Regions from separate parts of the Homo sapiens genome. Here region 1 is linked to region 2. Evidence: promoter capture Hi-C in human tissues and cell types (Jung and others, 2019). All regions are on one chromosome and are shown on one strand. The core of a region is centred on a gene start or on the middle of the fragment in contact, and the rest is flanking DNA. Distances in the headings are between cores, read along the strand shown.

Evidence for each region. The method cuts DNA at HindIII sites, captures the fragments that hold promoters and counts their contacts. A contact is called where the count stands out against the background at its distance.
Region 1: a fragment that was not itself captured here is called in contact with the fragment with the promoter of NKAIN1 in region 2 in 2 of the 25 tissues and cell types used here (neural progenitor cells and spleen).

Annotation. Positions count from the first base shown.
Region 1 is chr1:31,559,085-31,564,844 of GRCh38, reverse strand. LOC124903917 (a long non-coding RNA gene) reads right to left here. Exons shown (of 3, transcript XR_007065609.1): 3 at 1-121. Among named protein-coding and RNA genes, the nearest start is that of TINAGL1, 15 kb to the left of the region's middle. RefSeq lists a silencer at 1,543-1,837. The HindIII fragment of the contact is 4,161 bases long and covers 1,095-5,255 here.
Region 2 is chr1:31,236,300-31,241,473 of GRCh38, reverse strand. It overlaps NKAIN1 (sodium/potassium transporting ATPase interacting 1), which reads left to right and starts at 1,587. Exons shown (of 7, transcript NM_024522.3): 1 at 1,587-1,980. The coding sequence starts at 1,927. The HindIII fragment of the contact is 31,179 bases long and covers 1-5,174 here.

The DNA.
Region 1 (5,760 bases), core at 1,926-4,425, 320 kb before region 2:
CCAGCTTCCCTTTCTCCAGCACTCTTGATCTTCTGGGCTGGCACAGGGTCCAGGGTTGATGGGGATCCTAGCTGCCTGAGGAGCTTCCAGTCTGGAGGGTGATACAAGCACATGGCCAGACCTGAATTCAAGCCATGAGAGAGATTCAGAACCTGGGCTGGGAGCGCAGGGGAGGGAGCGGGGTGCTGATGGGGGTGGATGGGAGGCTCCAGAGAGGAGGTGGCGTCTGAACTGAACCTTAAGAATGAGGGGAAATGTAATGGCAGCGATGAGAAAGGGGAGGCACTTCAGTGCAGAGAACAGCAAGAGCAAAGACAAGGAGGTGGAAAATCAGCCAGAAACCTAGCCTGGAGAGGGTTTAGTGGACCATGGGTCCTTGATGGTAGAGACACAACATGACTTATCTCTGTGTCCCATCCTCTGTGCCAGAGGCGGCATCGACCAGACTTGGACAAATGAAGCAGAAGGGACAGGGGACTTAGAATACTAGGCTGCATCATTTTCTTTTTACTCTGACAGTGAGAAGCAAAGACCTCCACAAAGAAAGAAGCCCTTGGCTGTGTCATCATTTTAGAATCTGGGCACTCTCTGCACACCACTGCCCCCTCATGGCTGATCTAGGAATTCTCTCTAAATCCCAGACTGAAGGTGAGGAGGAGGCTCAGTGAGTCTTAGAGATTTGAAAAGCCGTGAAATCCTGGTTGGAGAACATCTGAGTCCAAAGGGCCCTCAGAGACTCTCTGACTTCCTCATTACATATAAAGAAATCAAGAGGGTGCTGCCAGGGAGTGGGGACAAGAACACTGAATTTGGTGTAAAACGGCCCTCAGCTTGCAGCCTGGCTCTATTTCTTACTGGCTGTAAGGCCCTAGGCAAGTGGCCTCACCTCTCTAAGCCACAGTTTCCATCTCTTTCAAATGGAGTCTGCCATCTGGCCGGCTTCTCTTTTCTGGGAATGCCACGCCAAGTTCCTCAGATCAATTCTCCTATTGAAAACAGCTAAAGGCCGGGCACGGTGGCTCACGCCTGTAATCCCAGCACTTTGGGAGACCAAGGTGGGCAGATCACCTGAGGTCAGGAGTTCAAGACCAGCCCGTCCAACATGAGGAAACCCCGTCTCTACTAAAAATACAAAAATTAGCTGGGCATGGTGGTGCATGCCTGTAATCCCAGCTACTCGGGAGGCCAAGGCACAAGAATCGCTTGAATCTGGGAGGCGGAGGTTGCAGTGAGCAGAGATCAGGCCACTGCACTCCAGCCTGGGCACCAGAGCAAGACTTGTCTCAAAAAAAAGAAAAAAAGAAAACAACTAAAAACACTGACATATTGGTGCAGCCATAGGGTAAGGCATCACTAGAACAAAGCTAAAGGGAAAACAGAAACGTAGACAGATAAACCATACGGGAAACTCACATTTACTCTGAGGGCACTTCCTGATTTGGGCTAGTTTGAACTGTTGTTTTGATAACTCCTCTAGGCAATGTACACAAATAAAAGTCCAGAGCACATGGTGGAAGATCAAATAGAAGACCTTCCCCCAAATTAGTTGGGATCCCAAAGAGCCATACTCTCAGAAGTAAACCAGCCCCAGTATGGACTTGTCAGAGGCGTTTGAATCAGAGGAAGAGCAGCTGCATCTTGAATAGGGGCTGGGTAAGATAAGGCTGAGACCTACTGGGCTGCATTCCTAGGAGGTTAGGCATTCTTGGTCACAGGATGAGACAGGAGGTCAGCACAACACACTGGTCATAAAGCCCTTCCTGGTAAAACAGGTTGCAGTAAAAAAGCCGGCCAAAACCCACCAAAACCAACATGGCAATGAGAATGACCTCTGGTCATCCTCACTGCTCACTATATGATAATTATAATACATTAGCCTGGTTCTATTTCTTACTGGCTGTAAGGTGAGGAGGAGGCTAGAAGACACTCCCACCAGCACCATGACAGCTGACAAATGCCATGGCAACATCTGGAAGTTACCCTATAGGGTCTGAAAAGGGGAGGAACCCTCAGCTCCGGGGATTGCTCACACCTTTCCCTGGAAATTCATAAATAATCTACCCCTTGTTTAGTGTATAATCAAGAAATAACCATAAAAATGGACAACCAGAGGCCCATGGTGCTGCTGGTCTACCTGTGGAGTAGCCATTCTTTCATTCCTTTACTTTCCTGATAAACTTGCTTTCACTTTACTCTATGGACTCGCCCCAAATTCTTTCTTGCACAAGATCTAAAAACCCTCTCTTGGGGTCTGGATTGGGACTCCTTTCCAGTAACAGACTTGCAGCTCTAATTTGTATCTCCTGGGTGGTCGGTAACCTCAAGCCTTGAACTTAGATTGAGGTGACCCTAGACTATTTGTTTCTTCCAAAGGTTTCTGGAAGAAGCAAATGAAAACCTTCTCTGGAGGGAGGTCCTTCAGTCAAGGCTCCAAATGAGTCACACAAAGAAATATTTAAGTACGACGGCCAGCACACAGTAAAAGATAATCAGGGCCGGGCGCGGTGGCTCACACCTGTAATCCCAGCACTTTGGGAGGCCGAGGTGGGTGGATCACCTGAGGTCAGGAGTTTGAGACCAGCCTGGCCAATATGATGAAACTCTGTCTCTACTAAAAATTAGGCGGGCATGGTGGCGGGCACCTGTAGTTCCAGCTACTCAGGAGGCTGAGGCAGAAGAATTGCTTGAACCCAGGAGGCGGAGGTTGCAGTGAGCTGAGATCGCGCCACTGCACTACAGCTTGGTGACAGAGTGAGACTCCATCTCAAAAAAAAAAAAAAAAAAAAAAAGATAATCAGGCACATAAGGAAATGAGACCACACAGCAAGAACCAGAAGAAATGAGAGACAATAGAAACATATCTATAAAGAATTTAAACACTGGAATTATTTTACATAGAATATAGAACAACCATATTTAAATAAACAATAGAGTAGCTTGAAAATATTTGCCTGGAACAGGATGAAAAGTGACAGTAGGTTTGAAGGGACAAACTGAACTTCTAGAAATGAATAATACAATTAACTAAAATTTAAAAATCAATAGCAAATTTAAAGCATTTTGGACATAGCAAAAAAGATAATTGGTGAATTGGAAGAAAGGTCAGAAGAAATAATCCAAAATGAGCATGGAGAGACATAAAGATTAAAAATAATAGCAAGAAATAGTAAAAGACACGAAGAATAAATGAGAAATGGATCTAACACTCTTGTAACTGGAACTTCAGGAGAGAAGAGAGAGACTAATGAAAACGTGATATTGGAAACGTCAGTGGCTGAAAATCTCCCAGAACTGATCAAAGCCATTAATCTACAGATTCAAAAAGCCCAACAAATCCCAAGTGGGATAAAAAAAAATTTTTTTTTGAGACGGAGTCTCGCTCTGTTGCCCAGGCTGGAGTGTAGTGGCGTGATCTCGACTCACTACAACCTCCACCTCCTGGGTTCAAGCGATTCTCCCGCCTCAGCCTCCCAAGTAGCTGGGATTACAGGTATCCGCCATCATGCCCGGCTAATTTTTGTATTTTTGTAGAGAAGGGGTTTCACCATGTTGGCCAGGCTGGTCTTGAACTCCTGACCTCAGGTTATCCACCTGCCTTGGCCTTCCAAAGTGCTGGGATTACAGGCATGAGCCACTTTGCCTGGCCAGATAAAATTTTTTTTTAATTTGCTGAGTGTGGTGGCTCACGCCTGTAATCCCAGCACTTTGGGAGGCCAAGGCGGGCAGATCACGAGGTCAGGAGATCAAAACCAGCCTGGCCAACATGGTGAAACCCGTCTCTAGTAAAAATACAAAAATTAGCCAGGCTTGGTGGTGCATGCCTGTAGACCCAGCTACTTGGGAGGCTGAGGCAGGAGAATCGCTTGAACCCGGGAGGCGGAGGTTGCAGTGAGCTGAGATCGCACCATTGCACCCCAGCCTGGCGACAGAGCGAGATTCCTCTAAAAAAAAAAAATTAATTTACACCTAGAAAAGCTTACATAGTGTATGATTCCAACTATGTAACATTCTGGAAAAGACAAGGCCATGGAGACAGTAAAAAGATCAGTGGCTGCCAGGGGTTTGGGGTGAGAGAGGATGAATAGATTAGAACAGGAAATTTTTAGAACAGTGAAACTATTTTGTATGATGCTGTAATAGTATATACATTTCATTATAAGTTTGTCAAAACCCATAGAATTTACAATACAAAGAGTGAACCCTAATGTAAACTATGGACTTTGGTCGATAACGATAATGTTGGTTTATTGATTGTAACAAATGTACAACACCCATGGAGGATGTTGATGTTAAGGGGGGCTGTGTGTGGAAAACGAGGGAGGGGCATGTGGAAACTCTCTGTACTTTGGTTTTTTTTCTTTTTCTTTTTTCTTTTTTTTAATTTTGAGACAGGGTCTCACTCCATCGCCCAGGATGGAGTGCAATGGTGCAATCACAGCTCACTGCAGCCTCGACCTCCTAGGCTCAAATGATCCTTCTAATAGCCTTCCTAGTAGCTGGGACTACAGACGTGCACCACCAGGTCTGGCTACTAATTTTTGTATTTTTTTGTAGAGATGGGGTTTGCCATGTTGCCTAGGCTGGTCTCGAATTCTGGGATTAAGCGATCCTCCTGCCTTGGCTGGGATTACAGGCATGGACCACTGCATCTGGCCAACTCTACTCTCTACTTGATTTTGCTGTGAACCTAAAACTGCTCTAAAAAAAAATGAAGTCTATTAATTCAAAAAGAATTTGCACCTAGACATATGTGGTGAAATAGCAGAATACCAAAGACAAAGAGAATATCTTAAAAACTGCCAGGAAAAAATGTCAGATTATCTTCAACAGAGCAAGGTAAGCTGAGAGCTAACTTCTCAAGAGCAACATTAAAAGACAGAGGATAGCAGAAAGATCATCTTCAATGTGCAAAAAGAAAATAATTGCAGGCCAAGAATTCTATACCCAGTGAAAACATCCTTTAAGAATGAATATGAAATAAAGACATTTTCAGACAAACAAAAGCTGTAAGTGTATGTCACCAATGGACTTGGAGTAGAAAGAAAAAAAAGCTCAAATTGAAGGTCAAAAATGCTAGAAAGAATGAAGAGAATTCAAATGGCAAATACATGGCAAATCTAAATGAAACTCGATTGTATAAAACGTTAATAATAGTGGTTAAAATGGAATTAAACTGTTGTAAGTTCTTTACATTGTCTTGGAGTAAATGTATCAATTAACTCTAGACTTGAACAAGTTAAATGTTCAGATTATAACTTCTAGGTTACTGGATAATGAGTAAAACAGACAGTGTAATTTCCAAATTAGTCGAAGAAAGCAGAAGTTTTTTTTTGGGTGAGATCTACTAAAAACAACAACAACAACAACAACAAAAATTAATATCAGACAAAATGGACTTTAAGGCGAGAAGTACTATTAGGAATAGAGAAGATCACTGTATAATAATAAATGGGGCTGAGCACAGTGGCTCATGCCTGGAATCCTAGCACTTTGGGAGGCAAAGGTGAGCAGATCCCTTGAGCCCAAGAGTTCGAGACCAGCCTGGGCAACATGGCTAAATCGCATCTCTACAAAAAATACAAAAATTAACTGGGCATGGTGGTGCATGCCTGTAGCCCCAGCTACTCGGGAGGCTGAAGTAGGAGGATCACTGGAGCCCAGGAAGTGGAGGCTGCAGTGAGCCATGGATCGCATTACTACACTCCAGCCAGGACAACAGAGTGAGACCCTGTTTCCAGAAACTGTAATAATAGTAATAAT
Region 2 (5,174 bases), core at 338-2,837:
TTCGTTTCCTCAAAGAGGTGTTTCCTGGTCCCCAAACCTAAATTATGCCCCTCTCATTCTCTCTTTTCTCCCTTAGTATTTTATTTATTATTTATTTATTTTGACAGAGTTTCGCTTTTGTCGCCTAGGCTAAAGTGCAATAGCATGGTCTTGGCTCACTGCAACCTCCACCTCCCGGGTTCAAGCGATTCTCCTGCCTCAACCTCCTGAGTAGCTGGGATTACAGGTGCCTGATACCATCCCTGCCTAATTTTTGTATTTTTAGTAGAGATGGGGTTTCACCACGTTGGCCAGGCTGGTCTCGAACTCCTGAACTCAGGTGATCCACTCACTTTTGGGAGGCCGATCTCCACTCAGGTGGAGGTTGCAGTGAGCTGATTCAGCCTCCCAAAGTGCTGAAATTACAGGTGTGAGCCACCGTGCCACGTTTCTTCTTTAATATTCTTTAGAGTATTCATCAGAACTTTGCGTATTTATTTGTATATTTCCTTGTTTTAATGACAATCCCTCACTAGACTGTGTGCTCAATGAGGGCAGAGATTTTGTCGGGTTTTGTTCCCTTATCCCCAGCAGAGAACCTGGCACATAGTGGGTATTTCATAAATGTTAGTTGGAAAGTACAGTTTATAGAATGTAGTGACAGATCAGATGTAATTGTAGGGAAGCCTGGAGGATGACCTAGGAAATTCCACTTGGGTGATGCTAATTGCCAAGGTGAATATAGGAAGTTAGGAGTGGGACAGGAATGATTATGTGGATTTGAGATGTGTCCAGTTCGAGGGCTTTTGGGGGTGGCTTGGAGAAGGCAATCTTCTGCTGGGAAACTTCTGACTCTGTCCCTACTGCAGCCCAGGGTAGGGGCTCCCTACCTCCACCTGGGCAGATCTCTGCCATCACCCATCTCACTGGCGTGCTCTTGGGAGCCTATCTGTTCCCTGGGCGGTGCAGCTCTACGGGATTTGGAACAGTGTTGCAGGTCTCATCTCTGGCTCGCAGGGCCCCCAGGGGTGTGTATGCAGTCAGGGCTCAATAAATGCCAGTAGACGGAAAGAAGGAAGGCGAAAAATGTGGCCAGACACTCAGGGGAGAGGCTGGGGTGAGGAGCAGATCTGGGAACGTAAATAGAACTAGAAGTCCAAGTTGGAACCCTGGAGCCCTAGAGACAGGGTGGACAAAAAAGTGTTCCAAGCCAGGAGGCCAGGCACAGGGCTAAGCGCTTTATTCACATGACTGCATTTCATCTTCATATCTACACTAAAGAGGCATAATTATTCCTACTTTGTTCATGAGAAAACAGGTCCAGAGAGGTGACGTGATTTGCCCAAGGTCACACAGCGAGTGAGCAGCAAAGTCTGGATTTGACTCAGGGCTGTTGTCCCCTAAGCCCGCACGCACTCTTCCACTTCACTCCCTGCCTCTCCAACCCTCCACCTCCCTATCCCTCTCCCCTCCCCTCCGGCGGCTCCCCCGCCCCACCCCTCTGCCGTTCCCCCCAACTCCCTCCCTGTCGGTGGCGGCGGCGGAGCCACGTGGTGGGGCCGGGAAGCCGCGGCCGACGAGAGCCCGGGCGACTGCCCCAGCTGGGCAGTGCTGCTCTGCGCTGCGCCGCGCTCGGGGCTCGCTCTCCTTGCTCCGCGCTCCCCGCCAGCCGCCCCGGGGCAGGAGGCGCGCCTGACGGACGGCCCGCTAGACAAAGGAGGCGCGGCTCGGCGGGGCCAGCGCGCGGACGGACGGACCATGGACTCGGAGCGCGGGCGGCCGGCCCCAGCCTTGGGGACCGGACACTCCCGGGCCCGGCCCTAGGCGCCCGGCCCCGCCGCCCGGCGCGCCCAGCGGGGAGGACGTGGAGCCCGCGCGGCGCGAGCAGGCGGCGGCCGCGGAGCAAGAAGGGCGCCGCGGCGTGCGGCCCGCGCAGCCCCCGGAGCCATGGGCAAGTGCAGCGGGCGCTGCACGCTGGTCGCCTTCTGCTGCCTGCAGCTGGTAAGCGTCGCGTGCCCAGGCAGTCGGGGCAGGGTGGGGCGCGGCGGGGCGCGGTCCCAGGGCGTGCGGGTGGGGTTGCGTGTGTCTCTGTGTGTGTGTCTGGTGCGTGTGCCCGGGCGGGGGGTGGTCTGGAGTCTCGGAGCGGTCGGGCGGAGCCTGCTCCCGCTGGCCGGGCTGTCTCTTTGTGTGCGCTTCTCGCTGCTGTGCCCGGCGCTCCTCCGGTCCCCAAGTGCGTCCTGTGCGCGAGTCCCCGGCCCGCCCGCACTGTACAAGTGGCCTCCTGTTGGGGGATGCGCTGTGGGACGGTGGCTTGCTGGGACTGGGGGTGTGTCTGAGGCTGATCTGTGGATCCGTTGAGGTCCTGCTGTGTGTTTCCCTCTAGATCCCTCGTTTGCATGGGTCTCTCCCTTCCTCTGGGTCTCTGCCTCTGATCACCACCCCTGTGTGAGCGTTTCTCACAAAGTCTCTGCTCCGGCGTGTGTCTCTCAGGGTTTCTCTTTGGTGTGTCTCTAAATCGCTGACCATTTCTGGCCCATGTTCATCTGTGTTCTGGGATCTTAGACTCCAAGAACCCTCCAATCCTTTGTGTTGTTTCTGCCTCCCTTCACCTTCCTGACCGGGCAGTCCTGGGAAAGGAGAGCCACCTCCCTGGAGAGGGTCACCAGGAGCTGCCAGATCCTGGGCCAGCCTGACCCAGCCTGGACCACACTTCCTGCTTTGGTCTGGCCGCTGTGGCCATGGGGGTTCCATCAGTCATCAGTTCCACCCACCAGAGCAGCTCCTCTGCCGGGGCCAGCAACAGTGGGGATGGGGACACTTGGGTGCCCTAGGGAGGACCAGAGCATCTGAGGACACTGTGCCTAGCCCCAGCATAGGGAACTCAGGTTCTTGTCTCAGGGAGGAGTGACTGTAGTGGACTAGAAGAAACAGCACTGCCCTTCAAATCAGGCCCTGGCAGGGGAATTTGGGAGGGTGGTTAAGGAGAGGCAGGGGTCTCCTACCTACCCTAGAGCTGAGATTGAACAACTAGGGAGGTTGAAGCTGTGCTTCTCCTCTAGGCAGAGGTGCATGGGGACCTCCATCGCCGAACCCAGGTCTGAGAGTGGGCAGCGAGGAGCCTGAGCCCCCCTCATGCTGGACTCCTTGTTCTGGGTTTCCACTCTTGCCTGCATCCATCACGCCCTCCCCACCACAGGAGCCAATGATAATGTAGAGTGAAGTTTTGAGCCTGGACATGCAGACCTCCTCATTCGTCTTGCTTCTCTCCTCCTGGGGACACCAGCTTCAAACATGCCATCCACAGACCTGGCCTGGGCAGTGGTGGAAACAGCCCTAGCTCTGGAGATTGTAGCCCTGCTCCCAGCTGTGGGAGACTGGACAAGTGACTTCCCCCCACTGGCCGGCCTCAGTCTTCTTATCTGTAAAATGATTATCCCTGAGGATTGCAGAGGGAATTAATTAAGATCAGGTGGAATGGGAACTCCAGAAGGGCAGAGATTGTCTGTTTTTCTTTATCTACTTTGAGGAACATGAAATGCCAAGAAATGTTTAAACCTTTCAGAGGATTCTTCTGTGTTTGTTAATTTTTTAATTTTAAACTAGGGGTTTTTTTTAATTAGAAAAGTAATATACATATATTGTAAAAAATAAATACATACATAATCAAACAGGACAGATAAATAAAAAGTAAGTTTTCTAGGCCAGGCATCGTGGCTTATGCCTGTAACCCCAGCACTTTGGGAGGGCGAGATGGGCAGATCACCTGAGGTCAGGGGTTCGAGACCAGCCTGGCCAACATGAAGAAACCCCATCACTGCTGAAAATACAAAAATTAGGGGTGGTGGCACGCATCTGTAATCCCAGCTACTCGAGAGGCTGAGACATGAGAATCACTTGAACCCAGGAGGCGGAGGTTACAGTGAGATGAGATCACGCCGCTGCACTCCAGCCTGGACGACAGAGTGAAACTGTGTCTCAAAAAAAAAAAAAAAGTTTTCTTCTCTCTATAACTAGACCCCTCCCCAAAGGTGAACCTGTTAGCAGTTTGTCCCATGCTCATTCTCTGTTGGCGATAATAACGGTTAGCTTTGGAGAGCCCTTGACTAAGTGTCAGGTACTCTTGGAAGCACTTTTCCAGGTATTAACTCATTTAATCCTAACAGCCCTATGAAGTAACTTGTCCAGAATTCTACAGGAACTAGGACCCAGGCTTTGTTTTGGGGGTTTTGTTTTTGTTTTTGTTTGAGACATGGGCTCACTCTGTCATCCAGGACAGAGTGCAGTGGTGCAATCATAGCTCACTACAGCCTTGACCTCCCAGGCTCAAACAATCCTCCCACCTCAGCCTCCTGAGTACCTGGGACTACGGGGGCACACCACCATGCCTAGCTAATTTTTTTGTGTTTTAGAGGTGGGTCTCACTCTTGTTGCCCAGGCTGGTCTCAAACTCCTGTGGTCAAGCCATCCTCCCACTTCAGCCTCCCAAGTGCTGGGATTATAGGCATGAGCCACCACATCCAGCCAGGATCCAGGCTTTGAATCCAGGCAGTTGGCCAGGTCCTCTGTTGCCTTCTTAATTATAAAATAAGTAGTTCTGGCCCTGGTAAGTCTGGGGCCCCATGGAAGGAGCTCATGGCTCTAGAGAGAAATGAAGGTGGTAGAGTGTCTCTCTGCCTCCCACTTCCCTTCCTCCATAGTTCTCCCTTGCTAAGCTAACCCCACTCTTCCACTTAGAGGAGCTCACCAGCACTAGAGGCTTGAGTTAGATGAGACCTGGGTGGCATTCTGGTTTCTCCCACATCCCGGCTGGGTGGCTTTGGGCAGCTTGTGAAGGTTGCACAAGATCATTTGCGGGAGGAACTTGAAAATTGCTCTCTTGGCTCTGTTGCACTATCTGGGCTCATTGCAGAGTGGGCCCTCCAGTTGTCACTAACCTCCATGAGCCCCTACTGCCTGATAGCTTCCATAATGTGCCCCGGGATGTTGGAATTCACCAGCCTGAGGGGAGAAGGGAGTCTTGGTTTTCTCATCCAAGGGACTGAAGGGAAAAAAGAGGCTGTTAAATATCTTTCAGCTGAAAACTTAGGAGGAACTGTGTCATTTTTCTTTCTCAAATGGAGTTTAATCGTTACAATGAATCAGGCCAATTCGAAACATTCTTCCTCAGTTGGGATAGATGTGATTTGGGTGAGGGA